Regions from separate parts of the Homo sapiens genome. Here regions 1, 2, 3, 4, 5 and 7 are each linked to region 6. Evidence: promoter capture Hi-C in 16 types of primary human blood cells and fetal thymus (Javierre and others, 2016). All regions are on one chromosome and are shown on one strand. Each heading gives the region's core, a stretch centred on a gene start or on the middle of the fragment in contact. The rest is flanking DNA. Distances are from core to core; before and after follow the strand shown.

Region 1 (2,820 bases), core at 225-2,724, 410 kb before region 6:
AATATTCACCCTGGAAAGAATAATTTAAGAACTCAAGCCTCTATATATGCAATTCAACTACTGTAGATTCAAAGATGGTCACAATAATTTATATACTCAAAGTTATGAAGGGTTAAAGAACTAATTATGAAAGACAATTTTTGTCCTTCTTCCCTACATAGGGAAAAATTTCTTAAAGACACAAAAATACATAACAAAGAGAAAAATTAATAAATTCAATTACATTCACCAAATTGAGAATTTTATCAAAGGACACCACAAAAAGAGTAAACTGCAGAGATGAAGATATTTGCAACACATACAAAGAATAAAGGACTAGGGGCCAGAATATATATTATACAAAGAACTCCTATAGATCATTTTGAAAAGACAGGTAACATTTGAAATGGCTGAAGACTTAAACAGGCATTTCATAAATTAGGAAATCGAAATAAAAATATGAAAAATTGCTCAAGCTTATTAGTAACTAGGGATAATGCAAATTATAAGTACCATAGGATACCATTATACACCCATCAGTTGAGCCAAATGTTAAAATCTGACAATATCCAATGATGGTGAGAATAGAGAATTCTCATACACTGCTGGAAGGTAAATAAATTGGTATGATCGCTTTGGAAAATACAGGCAGGTTGAAGATTGGCAATTCTACACCACCGTGATCACGCTCATAGAAATTCGCAAACATGTTCACCAGGCTATATGTACAACAGGTGCAGAGCAGCACTATTCATAATAGCCCAAACAATGAAAGCAAGTCAAAACCCATCAACTAAAAAATGGATAAACTGTGGTACAATCATACAATGGGATACTATACCATAACAAAATGAAATAACTAGCACTGTGTACAACAACCTGGAGAATCTCACACACACACAAAAAAAAATGTTAAATGAAAGAAAAAGCATTAAATAATATATGCAATATTATTCCATTCATGTAAAGTTCAAAAAGCAGACAAAAACTAAATTATGTGTGATAAAACTATAAAAGAAAATTAAGTAAATTATTACAACAAGTTGTGGACAATGGTTGTCTGGGACAGAGAAAGCTACGATGGAGAAGGGCACAAATGGAGATTGTGCGGTGCTTATGATATTCTATTTCCTTCATCTGGGTGGTGGCTACATGAATAGCAGGTTTATATTATTTGTTAAACTGTATATTCATGTTTGTGCACTTTTTCTGTATATATGGTATATTTCCCACAGGATGTTTTTCAGAAAGGTTATATAGACATATGAGACTAGATGGTCTGGTAAAAGAATGACAGGTGATAGACAAAAGGCAAACAAAAAATATAATCAGGAGGTAATAAGTGCTATGAAGAAAAGAAAAGCAGGATAGGGGAATAGGTTGAGAAGAGAGAACTATTTAACGGCTTGTAGCACCAGGATCTCCATAGTTAAGCCTCATGGAGTGCCACTGTGAACACAGCAAAGGCAATGCAAATTGAATGCACAATGAAGTTTCAAATTGTGCTGCATGCAAGATTTCATAAAGTCCACAAGAGATGGCTCCAACAACATCAAAAGTCCCTGACAGATAAAGATCTGGCAGCATTAGACTGTCAACAATTGAAGAAAAGAAAATAAGAAAAGCTGTCTATATTTTGGGTGCTTCATGAGAGAATAATCTTAATGATGAAATTTTTTTAAGGCTTAGAAAACTAATGAAGCCCTCAAATATGGTGTGAGATCTCTTTATAAGAATGCTGCAAGAGTCAGATGTGAAGCGAAGGCTGTTGTAATATGCCTTTTTTATAGAAAAACAATCATGCTATAAATAACAATAAAGCATTTTTAATTTGAAAAATTAGTTGACTGCTATTTTTATCTAGATAGATAGACCAATAGATAGATAGATAGATAGATAGATAGATAGATAGGATAGATAGGTGGGGTTTTTTGTTTTTTTTTTTTTTTTTTTTTTTTTTAGACAGAGTCTCACTCTTTTGCCCAGGCTGGAAGTGTGGTGACACGATCTCAGCTCACTGCAACCTCTGCCTCCCAGGTTCAAGCGATTCTCCTGTCTCAGCCTCCCCAGTAGCTCAGAGTACAGGCGCCTGCCACCACACCTGGCTAATTTTTGTATTTTTAATAGAGACGGGGTTTCACCATGTTGGCCAGGCTGGTCTCGAACTCCTGACCTCTAGTGACCCGCCCACCTTGGCCTCCTAAAGTGCTGGGATTACAGGCCTGAGCCATCACGCCAGGCTGTCAATAAACTTTTATGTTGACATACTTCAATAGAGTTTCAGTCAATCCCTCTTTTCCCTCCCTAATTTTTCCTATTTGAAAAGAATCCGCTCTCTCCTGTTTTGTTCAGCAAAATGTAAAACATTGATAAGATTTATACCTTTTTGAAAAAAATAGACTATGGTTGAGCCCATACATTCGATGAACATTTGTTCGTCACCTACTATGTGCTAGGCTCTGGGGAGAAACAAAAACAAATGAAACAAGAATCACCAAGACTCAAGAAGCTTACAACGAACGGCGAATAAAAAGGCTAGAAAACCACTGGCTTCGGGAATCTGTGGTAAGTGCTATTCAAAATGGGTGTCCAGGCCAGGCGCGGTGGCTCACGCCTGTAATCCCAGCACTTTGGGAGGCTGAGGCGGATGGATCATTTAAGGTTAGGGGTTTGAGACCAGCCTGGCCAACATGGTGAAACCCCACCTCTACTAAAAATAGAAAAATTAGCTGGGCGTAGTGGCGGGCGCCTGTACTCCGAGCTACTCGGGAGGCTGAGGCAGGAGAATCGCTTGAACCCAGGAGGTGGAGGGTGCAGTGAGCCGAGATTGCACCACTGCAC
Region 2 (2,802 bases), core at 124-2,623, 330 kb before region 6:
TACAGTTCTCCTCTTGGCCAGGCACGGTGGCTCACGCCTGTAATCCCAGCACTTTGGGAGGCCAAGGAGGGCAGATCACGAGGTCAGGAGATCCAGACCATCCTGGCTAACACGGTGAAACCCCGTCTCTATTAAAAATACAAAAAATTAGCTGGGCATGGTAGCAGGCGCCTGTAATCCCAGCTACTCAGGAGGCTGAGGCAGGAGAATGGTGTGAACCCGGGAGATGGAGCTTGCAGTGAGCTGAGATCGTGCCACTGCACTCCAGCCTGGGCGACAGAGTGAGACTCTGTCTCAAAAAAAAAAAAAAAAAAAGAGTTATCTAAAAGAAGAACCCTTCACAGTCACACATTTGATTTCCTCACAAAATGTGAAGGTGAGGGCTAGGTTCCATTCATTGCAGTAGCTTCTGGTACATAGTATGTGTTCAGTAAACACTGGTTGAATTAAAACTTAGAGAATTGGAACCAAAAGACAATTGGAACTGAAGACAATGGAAACAGAAAAACTATATATTAAAGGTTCTCAAGTGTTGGTCAGAAAAAGTATGCAAAACTTGGAAATAAGGCAAAAAGCTAAATAGCACATCCTTTTGTTACAGGAAAGGAGTCCTGATCCAGATCCCAAGAGAGGGTTCTTGGATCTTGCATAAGAAAGAATTCAGGGCAAGTCAGTAGAGTACGGTGAAAGCAAGTTTATTAGGAAAGTAAAGGAATAAAAGAATGGCTACTTCATGAACGGAGCAGCCCCGAGGGCTGCTGGTTGCCCATTTTTATAGTTATTTATTGATGATATGCTAAACAAGGGGTGGATTATTCATGTTTCCCCTTTTTAGACCACATAGGGTAACTTCCTGACGTTGCCATGGCATTTGTAAACTGTCATGGCACTGGACGGAGTGTAGCAGAGAGGACAATCAGAGGACACTCTTGTTGCCATCTTGGTTTTGTTGGGTTTTAGCTGGCATCTTTACTGCAGTCTGTTTTATCAGCAAGGTCTTTAAGACCTGTATTTTGTGCCAACCTCCTACCTCATCCTGTGACTTAGAATGCCTTAACCATCTGGGAATGCAGCTCAGTAGGTCTCAGCCTCATTTTACCCAGCCCCTATTCAAGATGGAGTTGCTCTGGTTCACATGCTTCTGACAATTTCACTTTCATGCAGTGGCAAAGATCATCATAGGGTTGTCTAGAGTGAGGGCCAACGAACTTTATTTGTAAAAGTTGGTCACAACCCTCAGGCTCCACTGTGCCACGGACCCTGGTGGACTGAACAAAGGAGGACGAATGCGGGAATAAAGACAAAGACAAACAAGTATATTTGGAAGAAGGGGTCAGGGGTCTCCTTGCTTCTAGTGAACAAGGGCTCTGAGCTTCTATAGCCCTTTGTATTTATTGAGTAAAGGAAATAATGAGGAGGGGGTGGTTGTCAGTCAGCTGTTTCACTTAGTGCAGGCCTGCATAACTGCTTTCTTTGAACAGTAGGCTCCAGATGTTCCAGTAGATAACCTCAAGGAGCACGGCGCCAGGGAGTGATTGCCCTCAGCATACCTTCTGGTGGCAGGTGCAGATGTGAGTTTCCCCACATCCTGCATTCGTGATAAACAGTTTGCTCTTTTATCATATAGCCTCCAGTGGAGTGCTGAGTTGGTCATGACCCTCAGGCTTTCCCCAGCATGTAAAGGTTCACATAGTAAATTTCTCAGGCTCTAAGTCATAGTAAATTTCTCAGGCTCTGAGTCAGGTAGAAACCCTGTCTCTACTGTGAGCTTTAGGATTTCTGTGTTGAGAACTCAAGTCTAAATCTGTGGACTTTAGAATCTCTGCTGTGTGTACTCAGGACTGCCATTGTGGCACAAAAGCAGTCATGGACAATAAGCAAAGGAAGAAATAGGCTGGGCTCCAACAAAACTTTATTTACAAAATATGTGGGCTGGATTCAGCCAGAGGATCATAGTAACGTAAAGTTTATCCCATTATTTACTATTGATTAAGGGTCCCAGAATTCGTGAAATTACTTGTTAACTTGAAGATTTTTGTCAGGAAGAAATGCAAATAACTTCTGTTGGTGGGACAGATACAGGTCACACATTGCTTAACAGCAGGGAGAAATGCGTGAGGTGATTTTGTCCTCGTGCAAACCTTATAGAGTGTGCTTACACAAACCTAGATGATACAGCCTACTATATATGGAATAGCAAATTGCTCCTAGGTTACAAACCTGTACAGTGTGTTAGTATGCTAAATACTGTAGGCAATTGTAGCACAATGGTAAGTAATTGTGTATCTAAACATAAGTAGGTACGGTAAAAATATGGTATAAAAGATAAAAAATGGTACACCTGTATAGGACATGTTTACCAAAATTAAGGCTGTTGGGGCACAAATAATTTGATAAAGGTTTATTGGGGCCAAGTATGGTGGCTCACACCTGTAATCTCAGCATTTTGAGAGGCAGAGGTGGGCAGATCACTTGAGGTCAGGAGTTCAAGACCAGCCTAGCCAAATGGCAAAACCTGTCTCTTTTAAAAATACAAAAATTGGCCAGGCGCGGTGGCTCACACCTGTAACCCCAGCACTTTGGGAGGCCGGGGCAGGCAGATCACAAGGTCAGGAGTTCGGGACCAGCCTGGGCAAGATGGCGAAACCTGTCTCTACTAAAAATACAAAAATTAGCTGGGCATGGTGGCACAGCGTATAATCACAACTACTCGGGAGGCTAAGGAAGGAGAATCTCTTGAACCCGGGAGGTGGAGGTTGCAAGGAGCCGAGATGGTGCCACTGCACTCCAGCATGTGCGACA
Region 3 (2,744 bases), core at 56-2,555, 410 kb after region 6:
AAAAAAAAAAAAGCAGGAGGTAGTAAAGTGAAAGTAAGCTTCTTTTATGCTTGTACTCCTCAGAGGCAACCACTATTTACTATTTTTAAGAACCAATTTAAAAAGAAGTTTGTGTAGTTACAGTCTCATTTTAAAAACATCCTGTGAGATTATACTGTATTACTACTGTTCAACTTGCTTTAAAGGTTGAAACAGCGTGCTGTGGTGTTTCAACCATAATTTAACCAGTCTGAAAATTCGTTGACATTTAAGTCACTTCAACTATCTTGTGTTTTTTTTTTGTTTTTAAAGACTTAGGCCAGTTGATTTTTAGAAAGAAAAAAATGATAATTAGAAGCTAGGGTTTTGGTTTATTGGAAACTTAAGGATAGTTTCATTTGGGAGGTTGTTCCCCTAATTTGTGCATATCAGAATTTCAGTTCCCAAGATGACTTGGACAGTTGTGAAGTTAACTGTTATTTACCACGTTTGACTATTGCTCTCAATTTTCTTCCATCTAGTCCACCCAGTGGTATTACTGAGTTTTGAAAGGTACTTTTGAATATTAAAAAACGCTTTACTTCTGAATATATAAAAAAGCCAGAAGAAGGAATCTAGAAAGTGGAATTGGGGAAGTTAGAGTAAATAATGATGTCCTTCAAAGCATGCATGCCAACTAAGGTGAACTTAACATATGTTAAATTCATCGTAATAAGAACCCTCTCCATATCCTTAAATGTGAGTTAACACCCTTATAAAGATTTAAAAAGACAAGAAAATAGTTGAATTAAATTCATCACCTTTTCTCTGTCTCCTATTCCATATTAAAAAGGGTACTAAAGCTCTAAAATTTGCATTTCAGTATTTTTCATTCTGTTTCCTGGTTGGAGCTTAAAATGAACAAGTATTTAGTATTGCTGAGATTTATAAGAGATAATCTTTAATCTTATTTATCAGAAAACTTTTCTTAAATAGCGTCTTTAATATAAACTATCGCTGTGAAACTCTTTTTCTTTCCTATGTATATTATTATATTCAGTAAACTTATGTGTTTAATTAGATGTAAAATTAGACGTTATTCTTGATCTTTGGCTTCCCAATTTCATTAGATGGGATTAGAATTGTCCCTTTTGTGTCTTTGATATATTGTGGTTATCTCATCCCTTTCTTGACTCATCAGCACCAAGGTTAGATTCATTAAGTTAGATTCATTAAGATCATTAAATTTATATGAAACCCACAGCTTTAAAGTAGAAGAAAACCCTACAAATCAGCCAAAACAGATGTTTAGAATTGATTGTTGTGTTTTAAAACTTTATTTTTTTGTTTATATATATTGTCCATATAATTAGTTATCTTTTTAAATTGCTTTTGCTGACTTAGCTATTACCTTTAATCTTTTTTAACTTTGGGATATTCAGTTTATTTGGTCAGAGCTATAATTATGGCATGGTTTTTTTTTTATTTTTTATTTTTGAGATGAATTTTTGCTCTTGTCCCCAAGGCTGGAGTGCAGTGGCACAATCTCGGCTCACTGCATACTCTGCCTCCCGGGTTCAAGCAATTCTGCTGCCTCAGCCTCCTGAGTAGCTGAGATTTACAGGCGTCTGCCACTACTACGCCTGGCAAATTTTTTTATATTTAGTAGAGACAGGGTTGCGTCATGTTGGTCAGGCTGGTCTCAAACTCCTGACCTCAGGTGATCCACCCACCTTGGCATCCCAAAGTGCTGGGATTATAGGCTTGAGCCACCACGCCCGGCCATGGTTGATTGTTTTTAACTGTTACAGTATTAAAACAATTTTTGGGTTTTTGGCTAATAGTAGTCAAAGAAAGAATGCCAGTGAAAGTGCTTTATAAAATGTAAAGTGCTATACAAATGACAACTTAAAATTTAAGCAACACATTTATTACACCTGTGAAAGCAAATAAAAGAAAAAACTGATCAACACAGTCCTCCTCTAAATTTCTTTCTGGCCCAGGAATGTGTGTATATTGCAAAAACAGCTATGTCAGAGATAAGCGTTACAAACTCCCATAAATAGGCATGTTTTAACTGTAACCTTTCAAATCCTGAGGAACTTCTCAAAATGTTTGTCCTATTTGAAGAAACTTCAGACAGCATACTGTAGACAGATAGATGATGATAGATGGTGTCAGAAGAAAAGATAAAACTGGTCCAAGATGGCTGCAGTTTGGACATATGCATAATTAAACCACTGCCTACAAACTAAAGCTGACCCCTTGGGTTTGTAACTGGAGTTTGTTAAATATTTTACTGACAGATACTGGTTGTAAACTTGTTTATCAGATACAGAACAAAGGCAGGATGGAATCAATCATCCTTCCACCAGACCCTAAGGTGCCTACACAATTATTAACTTTTCTCTTCTACCCACTCAACCACATATTTACTTGACTTTAGGCATAACATCACTGAATATGAACCAAATTCTCAACTATTGCTTCACCATACCGCACATATTTTCCTGTTTAAAAAATATATAAAGACTGTGCCTCATGCAGTCTACTTCAGAGCACAGGTAATAAGCTACTGGAACTTGTGCTTCCTGGGTGCGCATCCTCAAGCTTTGTGTTTGCAAGCAGCACATTCAGATTCAGAACACCTCCTGACTTAGTCAATCTAATGAGAAGGTATTAAAAATTATGGAGAACAAATCCTCTAAATCGACTAAATCCCCTGCAACTGCAGAACATCTGATTCCACCTTTAGAAACCCCAGCTGGGTTAATATACAGTACTTG
Region 4 (2,700 bases), core at 113-2,612, 380 kb before region 6:
ATAAGCATTTTTTAAACAATAAGAGCTAAGAGTTCTTGAGACCCATACCAAGCATTCTTCTAAGTATGTAACATGCGTTCTCTCCAATCCTAACAATGCTTTGAGGTAAGAGCCATTATCCTCAGTTTACAGGGGGTGAAAGGCAAAGGGAGATGTGATTTGTCCAAAGTCAGGCAACTCTGGAATCTTAACTCGGGAGCACTAAACGGGATCATTATGTTGGCTTCAGGTTCACTCATTACTCATACAAACCCAGCAACTACATATTACATGCTTTTAAGATAATCACATTAATCCATATGAAGAGTGATGATGAACGGTTACAAAAGGAGGTGAAAGCAAAGTAAGAGTGGAGTAAATGAAAGAGTGGAGAAGGGTCGAGAATCAAGAGGAAGAACGCAACATGAGAGAAAAGAAGCAATTTCTGTGTAACGGGAGGCTGTGAGACCCACAGATCAGTGGGTCTTTCCAGTTCCCTCTCTTCTTCTGCATGGCACCTATTCCAGAGCTGTTTCTCAGTGACCAGGTGATGAACACACATGCGTTTTCTAAGTTAGAAAGCAGGACTCAACTCTCCCATCATTGTGTACCTGGTAAAAAAAAAAAAAAAAAAAAAAAAGATGATTGTTGACCGGGCACAGTGGCTCACGCCTATAATCCCAGCACTTTGGGAGGCAGAAGTGGATGGATCATTTGAGGTCCGGAGTTCAAGACTAGCCTGGCCCACATGGTGAAATCCCATCTCTACTAAAAATACAAAAATTAGCCAGGTATGGTGGTGCACGCCTGTGATCCCAGCTACTTGGGAGGCTGAGGCAGGAGAATTGCTTGAATCCAGGAGGTGGAGGGTACAGATGGCACCACTATACTCCAGCCTAGGCAACAGAGACTCCATCTCAAAAAAAAAAAAAAAAAAGGACACTTGTTGATGGCGTGGGAGAAAAAGCATATGACAGTGCCCTTCCAAAGTTTCCACTAGCAGGCTGTCTGGATGTGTTTTCCATTGCTTCACAAACCAGACAAGTTTCCTTCTAAACGCCAGCGATCACAACAGAATATTCTCATGTGATTGTCTGATCTAAAAATAAAACAAAAGAATATTCTCTTGTGATTGTCTGATCTAAAAATAAATAAATAAAAGGAGAAAACATTCCAAATGTGCAGCCACCATAAATTCCAGCCTTGTAGAGAAGCGGATGATAATGACTACAACATCCGACCCATCTTTCCTTATCTCGCACTCCAGGTGGGAAGCCCCTCCTGTGTGCTCCCGTGGCATCTGACCTCTGACACGTTGATGAATGATGATGAACTGCTGAAAAGAGATGGAACCTGCAATTGCAGGTAGCTAACCTGCCTTCCCAGGAAGCCTCTGGCTGTTCCTCACTCTACAAACTGTAAGCATAGGCCTTCCAAAGGGATCATAAGACTCGCACTAGATTGCCTGTGCCTCCCTCTCCTTTGGATCAAACTAAGAACAGAGTTTGCCTCTGTGACTTTCCTTTTTGCTAAATTTCCATTGTGGTCCAGCCCCTATGCTCTATCCTGCCCCGTTTTTCTGATTGATACACTTTTGTCACTTGTCACTTTTGTCTGATTTCAGGCATGTCTTGCACACTCTGACACTTTAAGATGTTGCTTAGTTGAACTTTGATCCTTAAATGTTGGTATTTAACGTAAAGAAGATAAACTTATTTTCTTGTTTTTTTTCTCTTTTTTTCTGAGACAGGGTCTCCATCACTTAGGCTGGAGTGGAGTGGCATGATCATGACTCCCTGCAGCCTCAACCTCCTGGACTCAAGCGATCCTCCCACCTCAGCCTCCTGAGTAGCTGGAACTACAGATGAATACCACCACACTCAGCTAATTTTTTAAATTTTTGTAGAGACAGGGTCTGTCTATGTTGCCCAGGCTGGTCTCAAACTCCTGGGATCAAGTGATCCTCCCACCCTGGCCTCCCAAAGTTCTGGGATTACAGATGTGAGCCACCATGCCCAGCCAAATTTATTTTCCTATACACCATGCTGTTCCAGTACTGCATAGTTACAGTTCCCTCTTTTTTCGTATATGCCATATGTATTGCATATATATCAATGACAGGTATATAGAAAATAATTTCTTAAAGCATTCCTAGGCTGGGTGTGGTGGCTCATACTGGTAATCCTAGCACTTTGGGAGGCTGAGGCAGAAGGGTCACTTGAGGCCAGCAGTTCAAGACCAGCCTGGGCAACATAGCGAGACCTCATGGCTACAAAAAATTAAAAAATACTAGCTGGGCATGGTAATACATGCCTGTGGTCCCCAATACTTAGGAGGCTGAGGCAGTATGATGGCTTGAACCCAAGAGATTAAGGCTGCAATGTACTGATTGTGCCACTGTGCTCTAGCCTGGTGACAAAGCAAGACTCACCAAAAGAAAAGAAAAAAAGGCCAGGCTCGGTGGCTTACACCTGTAGTCCCAGTACTTTGGGAGGCCGAGGTGGGCGGATCATCTGAGGTCAGGAGTTCGAGACCAGCCCGACCAACATGGTGAAACCCCATCTCTACTAAAAATACAAAAATTAGCTGGGTGTGGTGGTGGGCGCCTGTAATCCCAGCTACTCGGGAGGCTGAGGCAGGAGAATCACTTGAATTCGGGAGTTGGAGGTTGGAGTGAGCAGAGATCCGCCACTGCACTCTAGCCCAAGTGACAGAGTGAGA
Region 5 (2,892 bases), core at 326-2,825, 310 kb before region 6:
ATCCCAGCACTTTGGGAGGGCGAGATGGTTGCATCACGAGGTCAGGAGATCGAGACCATCCTGGCTAACACAGTGAAACCCTGTATCTACTAAAAAAAATACAAAAAATTAGCCAGGCGTGGTGGTGGGTGCCTGTAGTCCCAGCTACTCGGGAGGCTGAGGCAGGAGAATGGCGTGAACCCGGGAGGCAGAGTTTGCAGTGAGCCAAGATTGCGCCACTGCACTCCAGCCTGGGCTGGGCACAGAGCAAGACTCCGTCTCAAAAAAAAAAAAAAAAAGAAAAGAAAAGGAAAAGGAAAGAAAATAAAACAGTGCAATGGTGTAAGGCTAAGTATTAATTCAGTCACGTATGTGTGTCTGTGTGCCTGTGTCCTGGGTCATAAGATAAGCTGTGTTTCTTTGAGAACTGGCCTAGGAAATCCCTAATAGTTACCTGAAGGGAAGGAAGAAAGAAGTCAGTTGATACTAAATGTCTTAGATAGCTACAGGTCAGGCTTTGAGATCTTAGTTCCATCCCCGCAATTTACCTACCAATCAGTATTATTGGTAGTCCATATCACCTGAGGAGTCTTCAGCTGTCCCAAGTCTGGCATTTGAAACACAAAACTCGGCCAGGTGCAGTGGCTAACACCTGTAATCCCAGCACTTTGAGATGCCAAGGCGAGCAGATCACTTGAAGTCAGGAGTTCGAGACCAGCCTAGTTAATATGGCGAAACCCCGTGTCTACTAAAAATACAAAAATTAGCCAGGTGTGGTGGTGCACATCTGTAATCCCAGCTACTTGGGAGGCTGAGACAGAAGATTCGCTTGAACCTGGGAGGCAGAAGTTGCAGTGACCCAAGATTGCACCACTCACTGCATTCCAGCCTGGGTGACAGATTGAGACTCGGCCTCAAAAAAAAAAAAAAAAAAAGAAATCCAAAACTCATTGCATTACCACTCTCCTCCAGTTTCTCTCACCTCCTGGCAAGCAGCCTCTTCACATATTTTAGGTAAGCCAGTAAGAAATAAAGAGGGTAAGTATGCATAAAGAAAAAACATGGCCGGGTGCAGTGGCTCACGCCTATAATCAGCACTTTGGGAGGACAAGCCAATCACTTGAGCTCAGGGGTTTGAGACCAGCCTGGGCAACACGGCGAAACCCTATCTCTACAAAAAACTATGAAAAATTAGGCCGGGTGCAGTGGCTCACGCCTGTAATCCCAGCACTTTGGGAGGCCGAGGTGGGCGGATCATGAGGTCAGGAGATCGAGACCATCCTGGCTAACAAGGTGAAACCCCGTCTCTACTAAAAATACAAAAAAATTAGCCGGACGTAGTGGCGGGCATCTGTAGTCCCAGCTACTTGGGAGGCTGAGCCAGGAGAATGGCGTGAACCCGGGAGGTGGAGGTTGCAATGAGCTGAGATCACGCCACTGCACACCAGCCTGGGCGACAGAGTGAGACTCCGTCTCAAAAAACAAAAAACCAAAAACCAAAACAACGAAAATTAGCTGGGCATGATGGCATAAGCCTGTAGCCCCAGAGATTCAGGAAGCTGAGATGGGAGGATTGCTTGAGCCCAGGAAGTCGAAGCTGTAGTGAGCTGAGATCGTGTCACTGCACTCCAGCCTAGGTGACAGAGCGAGACCTTGTCTCAAAAACAAAACAAAACAAAACAAAAAATGCTACATCAGCTTGTTTTTATAGATAGATATGAACAAACAAACAAAAGTAATTTCAAGGGACTATACGGAACATCTTAAACCAAGTTTGATCATTTTTACAAATGAGAAAAAGTTAATACCATTGACATTAATGATTGGCTTGAGGTAATATAGCAATAATGATCTCAACTCAGTATTGTGGTACTAGTGATAGATTAAGAGGAAGAAACGAGCTCTTCGTATTTTCAGACCAAGGTTCTCCTGGCCTATTCCACGCCCCGGACACAGAGTGTGTGAGTGGCACTTACGTGTGGATATGTTTTCATTCAGTCTCACTCTGGAGTCCCTGCGCTGTGCTTCTGGGGCTTTGGGACTGTCTGGAACACAGCAGGAGGCAGCACCTTGTGGTGGTGAGTGAAGCTGCCATTCCTCTCCATTCATCCTGAATTTACCTGGAGTCAAAGTATCTTGGGAGAGATGCTGGATCTAATTGGATTTCACTAATCAGTTGCCTAAGTGGAGTTTGGGGATGGGGACTCCCAAGGGTGTTCTGAGCAGGACATTTTCATATCTGTAGCTTAGGGACACCTTGTGGAGATTTTATCCATAGCTAACTAAAACATCCAAAAAGAAAACAAAACCACAAGTGGTTTGAAACTTAAGAATTTTCTTGGCCAGGCACGGTGGCTCATGCCTGTAATCCCAGCACTTTGGGAGGCCACGGCAGGTGGATCACTTGAGGTCAGGAGTTCAAGACCAGCCTGGCCAAGATGGTGAAATCTCGTCTCTACTAAAAATACAAAAATTAGCCGGGCGTGATGACAGGCACCTGTAATCCCAGCAACTCGGGAGGCTGAGGCAGAAGAATTGCTCCAACCTGGGAGGTGGAGGTTGCAGTGAGCCAAGATTGCACCACTGCATTCCAGCCTGGGCGACAGAGCGCGAGACTCCATCTAAAAAAAAAAAAAAAAAAAAAAAAAAAAGAGCAAAATTAACTTAAAAAGGCTGTCATTTGCCCTAAATGGGATGCGTACTTCACAGAGTGATAAGGAAATTCACCTCTGCATCTGCATATGTTACCTTGTCATTTTCAGGCACGATCTGCTTAAAAGAATTATTATCATTTGAAGTAGACACTGATTCTTCTTCAGCAAATTTGTGTCTTCTATTTTTTCATGTAGTCAATGATATTACTACAGCCTTCACCGGGGATGGTAAATGTTGATAAATATTTTGTGCAATTTA
Region 6 (2,700 bases), core at 159-2,658:
CGGGAATTTCACCACGTTGGCCAGGCTGGTCTCAAACTCCTGACCTCGTGATCCGCCCGCCTCGGCCTCCCAAAGTACTAGGATTACAGGTGTGAGCCACCGCGTCTGGCCTTGAGACAGTTCTTATCTCAGACATACAAGCATGAGTTTCCTTCCTTTCTGGTCTCTAGGCTCCAATTTGTCTGGGTCTGACAATAGTTACTTCTCCTGGAATCTGCAACTTTCAGAGCACTTTATGGAAAAAGTCGGCCAACCCCTGCCCTACACTCACTCTTGATCACTCTCCAGTGTAGCCATCCCAAACTATTTGCAGACCACCCTTTTCTCTCTGATCTGTATCCCACCCCCATGGGTGCTTCCATAGAACTAACCCCATCTAAGCATTTAACAGTTATTCTAATTGCCCTTTTACTTGTCTGACCCAAGTGTTCGCCACTCAATCCTCAGCACCCAGCACGATCCCTAGCCCTCGTTCAGCGCTTAATAAATCCATGTTGATTCAATGTGTAGCATCCTGAACAGGCAACAGCAGTGGGTTCCAACTTTCAAGGAGCTTAAAAAAGGAACTCAGCATACAAACAACAGACTAATCTACAAGGAAGAATGAGGGGGGTGGAGGGAGCACTAAAAAGCAGCAAGTACTCTGCAGCAGAACCAAAGATAAAATTCCACCTAAAGGTGCCCTTTCTTCAGGATCCTTCCTAATTTGAATACAGGTTCCCTTCTCCTCCATGACGAAATTCTTAGTGAGGTTACTTGTTGGTACGCAGTGTCCTCATCTGTAAAATAAGGCTAAATAATTACGATTTCACCGGATTATAATGAATATGGTTAAGTATTGAACTAAGGCCTAGAAAGCACGTAGCTCAGTGCACGCTTCCTAGAAAGTGCTCAGTAAACTCGGATCCTCTAACACGCTCCGTTTGATGTTAATGGAGTCCGTATCCGAGCGGGTCTCCAGTGTGCATCGCCAAGGGTATGGCCCAGCATCCAACGCATCCTTTTAGTAAGAGTAGCGACTTCTCAGCGCTCCCTTCGCCCCAGGAGAGTTCTCGGCTCGCGGCGTCGCGGCGGGGCTGCGCGCTGGGCTGAACTCCCAAGAAACCTCCTGCAGCTGAACCGGAGCAGACGCCCGCCAGGTGAAAGAACTACAACTCCCGTCACGTTGCATCCGAGTTTAGGGCCTCTTTATAGTTTATCACACCCAGCCTCTTCCGCGCAGCCCTCAGTGGCTCCGCCCCAAAGGGGGCTCTCTTCTTTCCTTGTGGAGTCCGAAGCGTGGCCACGCCCCGGTCACCGGAAAAATCCGTGTGACGTCACAAAAACCTACGCGTCGCGCGGTGGGCGGGAGTTGGCGGACGGTCCCTGGCTGGGTTCTGGAGGCCCTGGGACCGCGGAAGAGGCTTCAGACGCTGCAGCGATGCCTCGCCCACGGCGGGTCAGTCAGCTCCTGGATCTGTGAGTCTACCCTGTCCCGCCTCCCTTCGCGCCGCCCCAGCACCTCCTCCAAACGGCCAGGCCCTGCGCTGCTCTTCCTCCCCGCCCCTTTCCCACCCCCCCCGCCGACCTCTGAAGAGGCCCCGCGTGTGTTTCTGTCCCTGGGTTCCTGATCTGTCGTTTCCTGGCTGAGGACAGTTGTGCAAAGTGGGTCTCTTGGCGGGCTTGCCCCTCCAACACTCCGCTGCGCGATGAGCGTCCATTCCTCCGTCAGCCTTGACAGCTCGGCGCCCCGGCTGTTACTGGCAGTGGCCTCTCTCTTAGCAGCTAAAAGCCTTGGTAGAAAAAAACACAACGCTAGATGAGGTTCTCAAAAGCTTCTAGCAGAATTCCACCCCTGTAACTGGAATAAACATTGACAGACCCTGGGATAAAGGTAACAAAGTGGTTAAGACCACGGATCCCTGGCTGAGATTGCTGGGTTCAGCCCCCGGCTCTGCCATTCACCAGCCACGTGACCATGGACCGGTAACGTAACCTCTCCCTGTGCCTAGGTTCTTTATCTATAAAATTTTTGTGATAATAGCACCCATCACATGGAGTTGTCCTGAGGGATAAATTTAAAACATGTAAAACCCTTATAAGGATGCCCAGCAAATAATAAACACCACTAAGTGTTATTGTTATTATTATTTCCTACCAGAAATTGTACGGAAATGGAAGTTACAAGGGCAATTGCGTCTCTCCAGGAGCTTTCAGTCCGTTAATATTGCCATGTAAAAAATAGACATCTTAAGGATAAGGAGAACAATCTCCTTAATCTACTGAAGGCTTTCTGAAACAATGGCATCTGATATTTTACATTAAACTTGGGAGGCCGAGGTGGGAGAACTGCTTGAGCTCAGGAGTTCGAGACCAGCCTGGGCAACGTGGCGAAACCCCGCCTCTACTAAAGATACAAAAATTATCTGGGCACGGTGGTTCACGCCTGTAATCCCAGCACTTTGGGAGGCCGAGGCACTTGAGATCAGGAGAGTTGGAGACCAGCCTAGCCAGCACGGCAAAACCGCGGCATGTACTAAAAATACAAAAATTAGCCAGGAGTAGTAGTGGCGCCGGTAGTCCCAGCTACTCTGGAGGCTGAGGCAGGAGAATCGCCTCAACCCAGGAGGCAGAGGTTGCAGTGAGCTGAGATCGCGCCACTGCACGCCTAGGCTGCTAGGCGACAGAGCGAGACTGTCTCAAAAAAATAAAATAAATAAC
Region 7 (2,755 bases), core at 15-2,514, 340 kb before region 6:
TAGAACTGGCCTAGGAATATCTACGAAAACAATGGTAAAAATTAAAAAAAAAAAATTGTCACATGAGTTACCTGTCTCCTGCTGCAATCTGGTGTCCAAGGTGAAATACCATTGTATGGTGTACTAAGCAAGCCACAGGGTTTCCAGCCCATGCACAGAGTCATTCCGTCTCAGCCAGGTGAACTCCACATCATTTCCATCATAGCCCTCTGATAAAGGAAATGGAGCCCTGGTCAGTGCAAGGACATTGCAGATTGAACTAGTCTAGAAAATGCTATAATAGCCCGGCACGGTGGCTCATGCCTGTAATCCCAGCACTTTGGGAGGCTGAGGCGGGTAGATCACGAGGTCAGGAGATTGAGACCATCCTGACTAACATGGTGAAACTCCGTCTCTACTAAAAATACAAAAAATTAGCTGGGTGTGGTGGCGGGCGCCTGTAGTCCTAGCTACTCAGGAGGCTGAGGTAGGAGAATGGCGTGAACCCGGGAGGCAGAACATGCAGTGAGCAGAGATCGCACCACTGCACTCCAGCCTGGGCAACAGAGTGAGACTCCGTCTCAAAAAAAAAAAGAAAGAAAATGCTATAATATGTAAATAGCATGAGTTATGTCTTCGTGGTGACAAGTCCAAGGACAATCCCTGCAAAACTTGGCATGATTTCTCAAGTGCAATTGCAATGTCTGTTCAAAATGAAGTGACCTGCTGGGACTGTTTGCCGTCAATTGAGAACTGGTCCTATGCTAGATATTGTGTAGATCAGGTAAATGATAAGTCTTTAGAAGTGGCCTCCCTCATTATTTAAATGTTATTATTGAACAAATATCCATGAACACACAAAGCTTATGTTAGATACTGCCTTTCAAGACTGTCTAATAGCTCTCGTGGTATTTTCAGGGAACAGAATGTAGAACTGAGCTGTTCATATTTTCACATTGGCATAAACGCAAAACTAAAACAAAAAACCTGCACTCAGCTGCTTTCTTAAAGTCTGTAACATGTGTGTTAAATCTCAAAACAGTTTAATTAATACAGTTGATAATAGTAACAACAGTTACCCTTTGAACACTTATGTTAAGTACTTTATACATTATGTCACTAATGTTCTTGCAAACTTGCAAGGAAGCCATTTCTTCATTTCTAAGATGGACATGTCTTTACATTTTCTGAAGTTGAGATGGACTTTACAGTTGATTGTATCTATCTATCTATCTATCTATATAGATTTATATATATATATAGTAGAGCTTATATTTTTCCTAAAATGCTACTATCCAATAAATTCTGTTCCATAGGAAAAAAATGACAACCCATTTTCTTAAAATGAGTGAAAGATTTGAACAGACACTTTTTATTTTTTTTTTGAGACAGAGTCTTGCTGTGTCCCCTAGGCTGGAGTGCAGTGGTGTATCTCGGCTCATGGCAACCTCCGCCTCCCAGTGAATAGATGCTTTTACCAAAGAAGATATATGAATGATCAATCAGCACATGGAAAGATGCTCAAAATCATTAGTCATCAGAGAAACGCAAATTAAAACCACAATGAAATATCACTATCCACAATTAGAATAGCTGAAATTCATACCATTTTTCATTAAAAGCACCACACCTAAACCAGGTCCAGGGCGGAAAAAGTACAAAATAAAATTGGAAAAAAAAAAAGAAAAGGAAGAAAAATAAGCTTGGAACAGCTTGTTGCCCCAGAAAGTAAAAACATTATCAAAGGCTAATGATGGGACACATCAAATAACAAAAAATTCCATAAGCCAGCTTGAAGAGGGTCCTTTTGGTCAAAGATAAGATGATTTGAACATCAAGAAGAATTATTATTTCAATTGATTAAAATAAATAAAAATATTACTCTGGGGGCTGAGGTGAGAAGATTGCTTAAGCCCAGGAGATTGAGGCTACAGTGAGTTGTGTTCGCACCACTGCACTCCAGCCTGGGTGACAGAGTGAGACCCTGTCTCAAGTAGATAAACAAATATATAAATAATAAAAAGTCATAATTTTTTTAAAGAGGAAAGAACAAACACGCCATAGTGAATGAATCGAGCAAAGGTTGCTGTGCACCAACTCATTACTCCAAAAACTGATAATTAAGGGGAAAGAACCGAGATTTTATATCACCTTTCCAGTATGAACAGTATTTCCTGGAAATCAAATAACCCTACTAGATAAGAGTTCTATATAGAATAATTACAGATAATAAATGTAGTATTAGAAAGTCAACATTTTGTAGCTCCTAATAAAATGACTTAAATACTGGTTATCAATAGATGACAAAATCATTAGGTAAAAAGGTTGATGCCACCACTTGAACTCGCTGATCCATCTTAGCAGCCACTGTAAGTGAAACAACCAGCTATTGCATGCTTTTGAATATGAGGCAATAGGAAGCATACAGCACCACCTATGAAGTAGTCATAAACTAAGCAATACAAAGCAAAACCTTAAACCTGAATCTATTCAAGCCTGTAGTCTACAAGAAAAATAGAAGATAGAGGAAAAAGTTAGGTAACACTAGGAGGAAATATTTAGTCAAAGTCAGAATTTAGGACATCATGCAGGACAACTAACCTGTCTTTGTAATCAAGTCAATGGCATTAAAAAAAAAAGTGTGGGCTCTAATAGAATCTGTAGAAACTCAACATAATCTAACCTTACTGAGGATGTTGAATAAAGGGACTGACCAAATTTACTGTCACATAGATTGTCAACCTAAAATAACCAAAAGGCTCAGGATCCAGTTAAA

The links. The method cuts DNA at HindIII sites, captures the fragments that hold promoters and counts their contacts. A CHiCAGO score of 5 or more calls a contact.
Region 1: a fragment that was not itself captured here is called in contact with the fragment with the promoter of AMN1 in region 6 in 4 of 17 cell types (total B cells, activated CD4 T cells, naive B cells and 1 more); the score reaches 6.7 in total B cells.
Region 2: a contact is called between a fragment that was not itself captured here and the fragment with the promoter of AMN1 in region 6, in 3 of 17 cell types (activated CD4 T cells, total CD8 T cells and non-activated CD4 T cells). The highest score is 7.0, in activated CD4 T cells.
Region 3: a contact is called between a fragment that was not itself captured here and the fragment with the promoter of AMN1 in region 6, in 1 of 17 cell types (activated CD4 T cells). The highest score is 5.1, in activated CD4 T cells.
Region 4: a contact is called between a fragment that was not itself captured here and the fragment with the promoter of AMN1 in region 6, in 7 of 17 cell types (activated CD4 T cells, total CD4 T cells, naive CD4 T cells and 4 more). The highest score is 10.4, in activated CD4 T cells.
Region 5: a contact is called between a fragment that was not itself captured here and the fragment with the promoter of AMN1 in region 6, in 4 of 17 cell types (naive CD8 T cells, activated CD4 T cells, non-activated CD4 T cells and 1 more). The highest score is 5.7, in naive CD8 T cells.
Region 7: a contact is called between a fragment that was not itself captured here and the fragment with the promoter of AMN1 in region 6, in 3 of 17 cell types (activated CD4 T cells, total CD4 T cells and naive CD8 T cells). The highest score is 9.5, in activated CD4 T cells.

The regions. Positions count from the first base shown.
Region 1 is chr12:32,141,525-32,144,344 of GRCh38, reverse strand. All of the region lies in intron 1 of BICD1 (BICD cargo adaptor 1), which reads right to left. Among named protein-coding and RNA genes, the nearest start is that of BICD1-AS1, 35 kb to the right of the region's middle. The HindIII fragment of the contact is 2,033 bases long and covers 458-2,490 here.
Region 2 is chr12:32,053,064-32,055,865 of GRCh38, reverse strand. No RefSeq gene overlaps it. Among named protein-coding and RNA genes, the nearest start is that of BICD1, 52 kb to the left of the region's middle. The HindIII fragment of the contact is 7,795 bases long and covers 1-2,802 here.
Region 3 is chr12:31,314,882-31,317,625 of GRCh38, reverse strand. The region is part of intron 1 of SINHCAF (SIN3-HDAC complex associated factor); the gene reads left to right. Among named protein-coding and RNA genes, the nearest start is that of FLJ13224, 8.1 kb to the left of the region's middle. The HindIII fragment of the contact is 2,530 bases long and covers 41-2,570 here.
Region 4 is chr12:32,103,320-32,106,019 of GRCh38, reverse strand. BICD1-AS1 (BICD1 antisense RNA 1) reads left to right here. Exons shown (of 3, transcript NR_185992.1): 2 at 1,247-1,344; 3 at 1,730-1,903. Among named protein-coding and RNA genes, the nearest start is that of BICD1, 2.2 kb to the left of the region's middle. The HindIII fragment of the contact is 3,383 bases long and covers 1-2,700 here.
Region 5 is chr12:32,035,846-32,038,737 of GRCh38, reverse strand. No RefSeq gene overlaps it. Among named protein-coding and RNA genes, the nearest start is that of BICD1, 70 kb to the left of the region's middle. The HindIII fragment of the contact is 6,204 bases long and covers 1-2,892 here.
Region 6 is chr12:31,727,729-31,730,428 of GRCh38, reverse strand. It overlaps AMN1 (antagonist of mitotic exit network 1 homolog), which reads left to right and starts at 1,408. Exons shown (of 7, transcript NM_001113402.2): 1 at 1,408-1,458. The coding sequence starts at 1,421. It overlaps AMN1-AS1 (AMN1 antisense RNA 1), which reads right to left and starts at 1,164. Exons shown (of 1, transcript NR_198987.1): 1 at 1-1,164. LOC105369722 (a long non-coding RNA gene) reads right to left here. Exons shown (of 3, transcript XR_931497.3): 3 at 1,539-1,772. RefSeq lists enhancers at 900-1,099, 495-1,127, 1,140-1,489 and a silencer at 1,540-1,619. The HindIII fragment of the contact is 3,446 bases long and covers 1-1,816 here.
Region 7 is chr12:32,070,192-32,072,946 of GRCh38, reverse strand. No RefSeq gene overlaps it. Among named protein-coding and RNA genes, the nearest start is that of BICD1, 35 kb to the left of the region's middle. The HindIII fragment of the contact is 839 bases long and covers 845-1,683 here.